Linked DNA regions of Homo sapiens: region 2 is linked to region 1. The links are contacts of gene promoters, found by promoter capture Hi-C in human tissues and cell types (Jung and others, 2019). All regions are on one chromosome and are shown on one strand. Each heading gives the region's core, a stretch centred on a gene start or on the middle of the fragment in contact. The rest is flanking DNA. Distances are from core to core; before and after follow the strand shown. Region 1 holds the start of TSR3 (TSR3 ribosome maturation factor). Region 2 overlaps MEIOB (meiosis specific with OB-fold).

Evidence for each region. Contacts are between HindIII fragments. The study calls those that stand out against the background at their distance.
Region 2: a contact is called between a fragment that was not itself captured here and the fragment with the promoter of TSR3 in region 1, in 1 of the 25 tissues and cell types used here (dorsolateral prefrontal cortex).

The regions. Positions count from the first base shown.
Region 1 is chr16:1,350,456-1,354,482 of GRCh38, forward strand. It overlaps TSR3 (TSR3 ribosome maturation factor), which reads right to left and starts at 1,423. Exons shown (of 6, transcript NM_001001410.3): 1 at 1,238-1,423; 2 at 924-1,143; 3 at 352-545. The coding sequence starts at 1,349. GNPTG (N-acetylglucosamine-1-phosphate transferase subunit gamma) reads left to right here and starts at 1,476. Exons shown (of 11, transcript NM_032520.5): 1 at 1,476-1,562; 2 at 1,647-1,704; 3 at 1,784-1,851. The coding sequence starts at 1,511. RefSeq lists a silencer at 1,001-1,700. The HindIII fragment of the contact is 21,021 bases long and covers 1-4,027 here.
Region 2 is chr16:1,832,326-1,836,352 of GRCh38, forward strand. MEIOB (meiosis specific with OB-fold) reads right to left here. Exons shown (of 14, transcript NM_001163560.3): 14 at 1,661-2,041. The coding sequence ends at 1,931. It also overlaps a transcript of FAHD1 not described here. Among named protein-coding and RNA genes, the nearest start is that of FAHD1, 7.1 kb to the left of the region's middle. RefSeq lists a silencer at 523-817. The HindIII fragment of the contact is 8,140 bases long and covers 1-4,027 here.

The sequences.
Region 1 (4,027 bases), core at 173-2,672:
AAACATTCCCACCAAGACTGCCCCACGCCTCATCAGGGCCTCTTTAGATCAGCAATTCAGTAAGGAGGACGTGGAGGATAAGGAGGATTCTCTGGGCAGTGGTGCCCTGATAATGAATGGCACCCCACACACCGGCCCTGATAGAACAGCGATCCCATTCTGCCTCTACTGCAACTCCACAGGCCGAAAACCTGAAGTGACAGTTGGGGCTGGAACCGTGGTCTGTCTGAACTGTTCCCCTGTCCGTCCCTTATGCTCCTCCTGGGGTCTGTCGGCAGGAAACATGATGCTGGGAGCATAGCAGGAACAGCAGGCCGCCGGGTCACACTGCTGTGGGGCCCCTGGACTCACCTACGATGCAGAAGGTGGCAGCAAACGCTTCCACGCAGGAAAGTCTGTAGGGCCGGCCATAGTTCACGGGGTTGGCGGCCACCAGGTAGGGCAACAGGCGCAAGTGGCTCCCTCGCATCTTCCCAAACGGTGTCTCGTCCAGCCTGGCCCAGGAGCAGTCGATGACGGCGACCCCAGACTGCGCCACCAGCTGTCTGCCAGGGACAGCATGGGATAAGTTCAGGAGCCAGCACTACCCAAGGTGGAGCATGCCCCGGAGAATGGCCTAGCTAAGGGATTCAGGGACATCATTCCGCCATCCCCAAACACCCTCAAACGGACTTCACGAGCAAGCTTTTGAGGCAGCTGCTTGGGGCACCTGGAGCATGTGTTTATTCACTCAACAAACGTTTATTACCCCAAAACCTCCTTTATCCCAGGCTCTGCGCTACGCAACGGAGGCAAACTAGACAGACGTTCCCTGCCCACGTGGGTGTGGATGTGGGTGCGACATACAAGTGCCACTAAACCATCCCTGAAGGGAACCACGCGCTGGAAATGAAGACGACCTCGGGCAGGCCTCCCGCGCCTACCTGTCTGCGGGGGACGCGTACTGCTTGCCCACGGGGCTCAGCACCAGACCGCCGAATCTGTGGCCCAGGCGCAGGCAGCGCACCAGCCCCAGGCGGGCCAGCTTGCGGCCCGTGCAGCGCCGGGGGTCGCAGTGGCCCAACTCCCACATGGCCAGCGTGCAGGGCAGCGCCGCCGGGCCCGGGCCGCCCTCGCCGTCAGCCGCCCCTGGCTCCACGGAAGCTGCACGAGAGAGAGAAGGGCACTCGGCCTCAGCGTGGGACCCCCGGGCAGGCCCTCAAACCCTGACCCGCTCTCCCCATCACGCCTCGCTCACCCTGCAGCGCGGCGCCGACCTCCTCGGCGAAGGCCTCCAGGGAGCGCGTCGGGAGGTGCCGAGGGCGGCCGCCTTCCGCCCCCGGCCCGCGCGCTGCCCTCCTGCGGCCCATGGCGCGGACCTGGGGTGCCGGGGACTCCCCACCCCACGGCCGCGCCCCTCGGCCTCCCAATGGGCTGTGCGGCTGCCAGCGCTTGCGCCGGACGCCACTTCCGGTCCCCGTGGTCACGTGACCGTCACTTCACGTGACCGCGCGGCGGCCGCTGCGGCGCGATGGCGGCGGGGCTGGCGCGGCTCCTGTTGCTCCTCGGGCTCTCGGCCGGCGGTGAGTGGCCCGGCCGTCCGCGTCCCCAGGCCCCGCGCGCGCTCTGCACCCCGGCCTCCCCGCTCACGGTCTCGCTCCCCGTAGGGCCCGCGCCGGCAGGTGCAGCGAAGATGAAGGTGGTGGAGGAGCCCAACGCGTTTGGGTGAGCAGCCTCGCGGGCTGGCGGCTCGAGCGGGGGACGGCCCGGGCCCGTTCCCCGCTGACCTTGCCGCTTCCCGTAGGGTGAACAACCCGTTCTTGCCTCAGGCCAGTCGCCTCCAGGCCAAGAGGGATCCTTCACCCGTGTCTGGTGAGTGAGGAGCGCTGTTGGCCGGCGCGGGGGTGGCCGCGGGGAGCAGCAACAGTGGAGGATGGATGAGTGACCCTGAGAGTTACGGCCCGGAGTCTAAAGCATTGGTTTGTCAGCCTTCTAAAATTAATGTGGAAGTACGAGAGAATATACCAGAACGTTCTTGTAGCGAATTAAATTATCTCCAGACTTAGTCCTTCCTTTCCTTTCCGAGAGGTAACTGCTGTTAATAGTCTGGTGACTTTGCAGACGCGTTTCTGTGCTTTTACGTGCGTGTCTATGCAACTGGAAAACGTATAGTTTTTGTAATCTAATCGCTTTTTTAAAAAATCATGCTGCGCGAGTATTTGGCTGATTTGTCGTTGTCACTCGCTGTATCTCTCGGGACGCTTCATGGTGATGATATAGGTCTTCGTTCTTTCTCTTGGTGCTCAGCACGCGATAGGATGGCACTGCACTCCCCGATTGTATTTAGGTTCTTGCCATTTTTTTGGCCATTAGAAATAGTTCTGTGGAGAACATGCTGTGTAGGTGCTTTGGTTTGCCCTCAGGTGAGCGGTTTCCCAGTGCAGGATTCCAGAAGTGGAATTGGTGGGTCATGAGTATATATATCATTTAAACGCTGAATGAGTATTAAATATAATAGACAAAAATCCAAGAATTTTTTTTTTTTTTTTTTTGAGACAAGAGTCTCGCTCTGTCGCCCAGGCTGGAGTGCAGTGGCACGATCTCGGCTCACTGCAACCTCCGCCTCCCAGGTTCAAGCGATCCTCATGCCTCAGCCTCCCGAGTAGCTGGGATCACAGGCATGCATCACCATCACGCCCAGCAAATTTTTGTATTTTTAGTAGAGATAGGGTTTATTTCACCGTATTGACCAGGCGGGTCTCGAACTCCTGACCTCAAGTGATCCGCCCATCTCGGCCTCCAAAAGTGCTGGGATTATAGGCGTGAGCCACCGCGCCCAGCTTTAGTAATTTTATTATCGAATACCTTTATGTGTTAGGGTCTGTGCTGGGGTTGCAGAAACGAACACAGATATACCAATGCTTGTCCTCATGGAGCTGACAGTCTAATGGGGAGGGATGGAGGAACAGGCACTGAGCCTGTAGAATTAGATAAAATACATAGAATGGCCAATGATGAAAAATGCCATGTAGATGTGTGAAGCAGAGGAGGGAGTGTGTGTATGTGTGTTAGAGTATTGTTTGGGGGATCGCTTTTTTTATTTTTTAGAGACGGGGTCTTGCTCTCTCACTCGGGCTGGAGTGCAGTAGTGCAATCATAGCTCACTGCATCCTTGAACTCCTGGGCTGAAGCAATCCACCAACCTCAGCTTCCTGAGTAGCTGGGACTACAGGTGCACGCCACCATGCCCGGCAAATGTTAAGTGTTCTTGTAGAGATGGAAGTCTCACTATGTTGCCCAGGCTGGCCCCAAACTCCCAGCGTCAAGCAATCCTCCTGTCTTGGTGGGGATTGCTTTAAATAGGGTGCTGAGGAAAAGTCTAAGAAGTGACATTTCAGCCAAAAGCTAAAGGAGAAAAGGGAGTAAAGCTGTGGCTATTTGGGGAAAGGGATCCAGGAAAGGGAGTGGCCAAAGGCCTTGAGCAGGACAGCCAGGGCCAGAGGGGATTCAGCTGGGGTAGCCACAGATCAGAGATAAAGGGGATCAGATGGTGCCGCACCGTGTTGGTAGGTTTGGTGGACTTTGACTCCAAACACATCTTTTTAAGTTTTTTGTTGTGTGGCTGGGCGTGATGGCGCACCTGGGGTTAGGCTCACTTCCCTGCGGCTCAGAAGCCATGGGATGGTGGCTTCCCAGGGCCTGAAGTGCTGGAGTCGGGCCACCACCTATCCCAAGAAGCTGGGGAGGAGGCAGGCCACTGTGTAACAGCGCAGTTCCCGACCGAACCCCTTCCAGTAGGAGAGAGGCAGCCTTGGCTAATGGGACCACGTCTTTTTGGAGGTGAGAGTCCTGGAAAGAAAACAGAATATGCTGGTCGTGGTGGTGCGTGCATGTTGCTCGGGAGCCTGAGGTGTGACGATCGCTTGAGGTCAGGAGTTCGAGACCAGCCTGGCCAACATGGTGAAACCCCGTCTCTACTAAAAAAAACCACAAAAACAAAAGTTAGCCGGGCATAGTGGTATCCTCCTGTAATCCCAGCTGCTTGGGA
Region 2 (4,027 bases), core at 473-2,972, 480 kb after region 1:
ACACCCGGCTAATTTTTTTGTATTTTTAGTAGAGACAGGGCTTCACCGTGTTAGCCAGGATGGTCTACATCTCCGGACCTCGTGATCCACCCACCTCAGCCTCCCAAAGTGCTGGGATTACAGGCGTGAGCCACCGCGCCTGGCCTATTTTCCTCTTTTTCTTAAAAATATAAGTGTCAGCTGGGCACGGTGGCTCACGCCTGTAATCCCAGCACTTTGGGAGGCCGAGGTGGGTGGATCACTTGAGCCCAGGAATTCAAGACCAGCCTGGGCAAAATGCCAAGATCACTGTCTCTACAAAATGTTTTAAAATTAACCGAGTAAGGTGGCTTCTCCTGAGCTCCTGGACACGGGGCTCAGTGGAGGGGGCACCATACCCACTCTTGCTGAACCAACAGTGGGAGCCAAGCCAGCACCAACCACGACACCCTCACTTCTCTCCTCTCCTTCCTTCCCTGTCCACCCTCCCCATTCACCTGGCTTCACAAACCCCCCAGTTCTCCCCAAGGGAGGATGGAAGGCCTGTTCTGCACAACTAGGTCAAGTCGTTCATTACCTTATCACCACAATTTGGACACTTAGGGGTGAACCTGCATCCCTCCTCTGTGGCTGCACATGGTAAAAGCCAGATAAAACATGACTGACGATGGTTTATCTCCCAACACCAGCCTTAGGAAACAGTTTCATATACTCACTTTTTCCTTTTTTTTCAATCCTGTGGTGGAGGGCATGTAGCCTTCTAAAGTACCAGGTCAAACCTCCCAGGCCGTGGGTCAACACTGACCTTAGCGGTGGGTCTTCACAGCTGGAGTCTGCGCCCTGAAGCAAGTGACTCTCAATGGTGTGCAGTTGAGCCGTTTACTTTGTGGCTGCTGCAAAGCAAACAGATAAAGTGGCAGCTGTCGTCCTCATGTCCTGAGTAGGTCCCCCTCAGAGTTCTGAGACCCAGGCATGCTCATGAACCTTTTGAAGTTGGTCTCCTCCCAGTTGATTCAGACTCAGTCATGTCAGCCCTGAGCCAGCAAGCCTCCACAAGCACTGGGCACTCCAGTGTGTCACCAGAGAAGACCAGGGACTAGAAGAGCCCCAGGTGCTCAAAGCAGTCGCACAGGATTGCCCACGACTTTGGCTATTCCCACCCAGCACCAAGAGCCCCTTGCCCTCATCCTGTCAGATCTGTCAGATGACGAGTCACCACCCAGCTCTCAGAAAGTAGTCTTTAGAGGTACTTTTTTTTTTTTTTTTTTTTTTTTTAAGACAGAGTCTCGCTCTGTCGCCCAGGCTGGAGTGCAGTGGCTGGATCTCAGCTCACTACAACCTCCTCATCCCAGGTTCAAGAGATTCTCCTGCCTCAGCCTCCCGAGTAGCTGGGACAACAGGCACGTGCCACCACACCCAGCTAATTTTTTGTATTTTTAGTAGAGATGGGGTTTCACTGTGTTAGCCAGGATGGTCTCGATCTCCTGACTGCCTTGGCATCCCAAAGTGCTGGGATTACAGGCATGAGCCACCGTGCCCAGCCCTTGAGGTCCTACTCTTTTTCCAGGGAACCAAGACAAATAATAAACTGGCTTAAGAAAATAAATCATTCACTCAGGATTAAGAAACTCACTCAAAGCCGTTCAACTACATGGAAAAGAAAATAAATCATTCAAATCTGTAGAAGATTAAATCTGTTTATTAATTCATGTAAACATTTTCCAACTTGGGAGGAGACAAGGCAAAGACAGTAGGAGGCCTTCTAAGAAGGGAGGTCAGATGAGAGAGGCCTTCAGACTCACCCAGACCACCTCCACCATAACAATTTCTAGAAACATGTTCACCACATGTAAACAAAATGCAATTTTCCCCATAATTTTCAAATTAATATTCCATTTTAAAGGGAGTTAAAACTCTTATACTTTTCCAGAGTTCAAAATGATAGACCGTTTTAAACATGTTTTTGTCCAGACAAGTTTCTGCTTGCCTCAGTAGGATCTGCAAGCTTGCACGAGAGTACACTAATTTTCAATCCACTCCTTGCTCTGTGTGATAGAACGAACTGCGAGGAGAAACAGAAAAAGAGACAAAAGGTTAATTTTTAAAATCCCCTTGTATATCAAGTTGAAAAATCAATGATCACGAATAGAGAACTGCAATGAAAGTTTTGTTTACAGATACTAATATAAACTTCCATTAGAGCTGTAAGATGATGGGAAGAGTTCCAGTCTCGGAGTACAGTTAATTTACAGGCCCAGCTTCTGACTGATTTTGTAAAAATTTTGTCACTTTTCATGCTATTTCTCTCAGGTAGGAAAGTTGGGATTAAAAGTCTAATGTGGCCGGGTGCTGGTGCAGTGGCTCACGCCTGTAATCCCAGCACTTTGGGAGGCCAAGGCGGGTGGATCACCTGAGGTCAGGAGTTCGAGACCAGCCTGGCTAACATGGTGAAACTCCCATTTCTACTAAAAATACAAAAAATTAGCCGGGCATGGTGGCACACACCTGTTATCCCAGCTACTCAGAAGGCTGAGGCAGGAGAATCCCTTGAACCCGGGAGGCAGAGGTTGCAGTGAGCAGAGATTGTGCCATTGCACTCCAGCTTGGGCAACTAGAGCGAAACTCTGTCCCCCCCACCCCCCCCCACTAAAAAAAATGTCTAATGCAGGGCTGGGTGAGGTGGCTCATGCCTGTAATCCCAGCACTTTGGGAGGCCAAGGCAGGTAGATCACTTGAGGCCTGAAGTTCAAGACCAGCCTGGCCAATAAAGTGAAACCCTGTCTCTACTAAAAATATAAAAATTAGCCAGGTGTGGTGGTGCACACCTGTGGTCCCAGCTACTCGGTGGCTGAGGCGGGAGGATCACTTGAGCCTGGGAAGGTTGAGGCTGCAGTAAGCTGTGATCGCACCACGTGCTCCAGCCTGTGTGACAGAGCGAGCAGAGTGAGACTGTGTCTCAAAAAAAAAAAAAAGTATAACATATGAAAAAGGGCTTAATGTGTGTTCAAACTACCAACTGTGATAGACTTTAAGCTGTAGCAGGGACTCAATCTGTGAGACTACAGGAATATGATGACATAATTTAATAATAGTCTTATTTTAATAGTCTTATTTTTTATAATTTATACAGCACTTTAACCAACATTTTATTTAATATAGAGTGGAAGGACATATCAACCACTTTAATTTCAAGACTGAGAGAAAAAAAAGTACCAACATCAGGGAAAACTGGGAAAGACTTTAAGTGGGCAATAACAATAAGTGGGTACCCTTTCAATGGAATGTTGTGGTAGTCTGACATTGGCTAGAACACGTTCAGAGCTGTCTGATTCTACAGGGGCTACACCTCCCATTGCACGGACTGAGCTGTTTTAGAACTAGGTTGTAGAAAGCTGACAGTGATTCGAATGACCCTGCTCATGGAATCCCCATGAAGTCTGTCTGAGTGAAGATGCACTGCTTCTGCCCTATAGAGGAGCCCAGAGGTTCATCTACAAGCAAACCCATTCAGCATTTTGCATTGCCTGCCTATGTATCTATTCTTCCAATTCCTTTTTCTTTTTTTTTTTTTTTGAGACACAGTCTCACTCTGTCACCCAGGCTGGAGTGCAGTGGTGAGATCTCGGCTCACTGCAACCTCTGCCTCCCAGGTTCAAGCAATTCTACTGCCTCAGCCTCCTGAGTAGCTGGGATGACAGGCACCTGCCACCATGCCTGGCTAATTTTTGTAGTTTTAGCAGAGATGGGGTTTCACCATCTTGGACAGGCTGGTCATGAACCAATTCCCCTTTGAATCCTTCTTCTCCCCTATATCTTACTGGTCCCCTCATTAATTAATGAGTTAAATCTTCAACATGTGTTATTTTTGTATGCATCATGGTTTTTGGATTTTGGTTTTGGATTTTACATCTTTTTATTTGTAAAATACTGTGTTACCTAATGCACGAAGCAGCTTGTCCATAATTATGAATATTTGTTAAAGCCACCTGGAACATCTGTTACACACATTCTCTGGGAAAGTGCAGTATCCACTTGAGGGTCATTCATT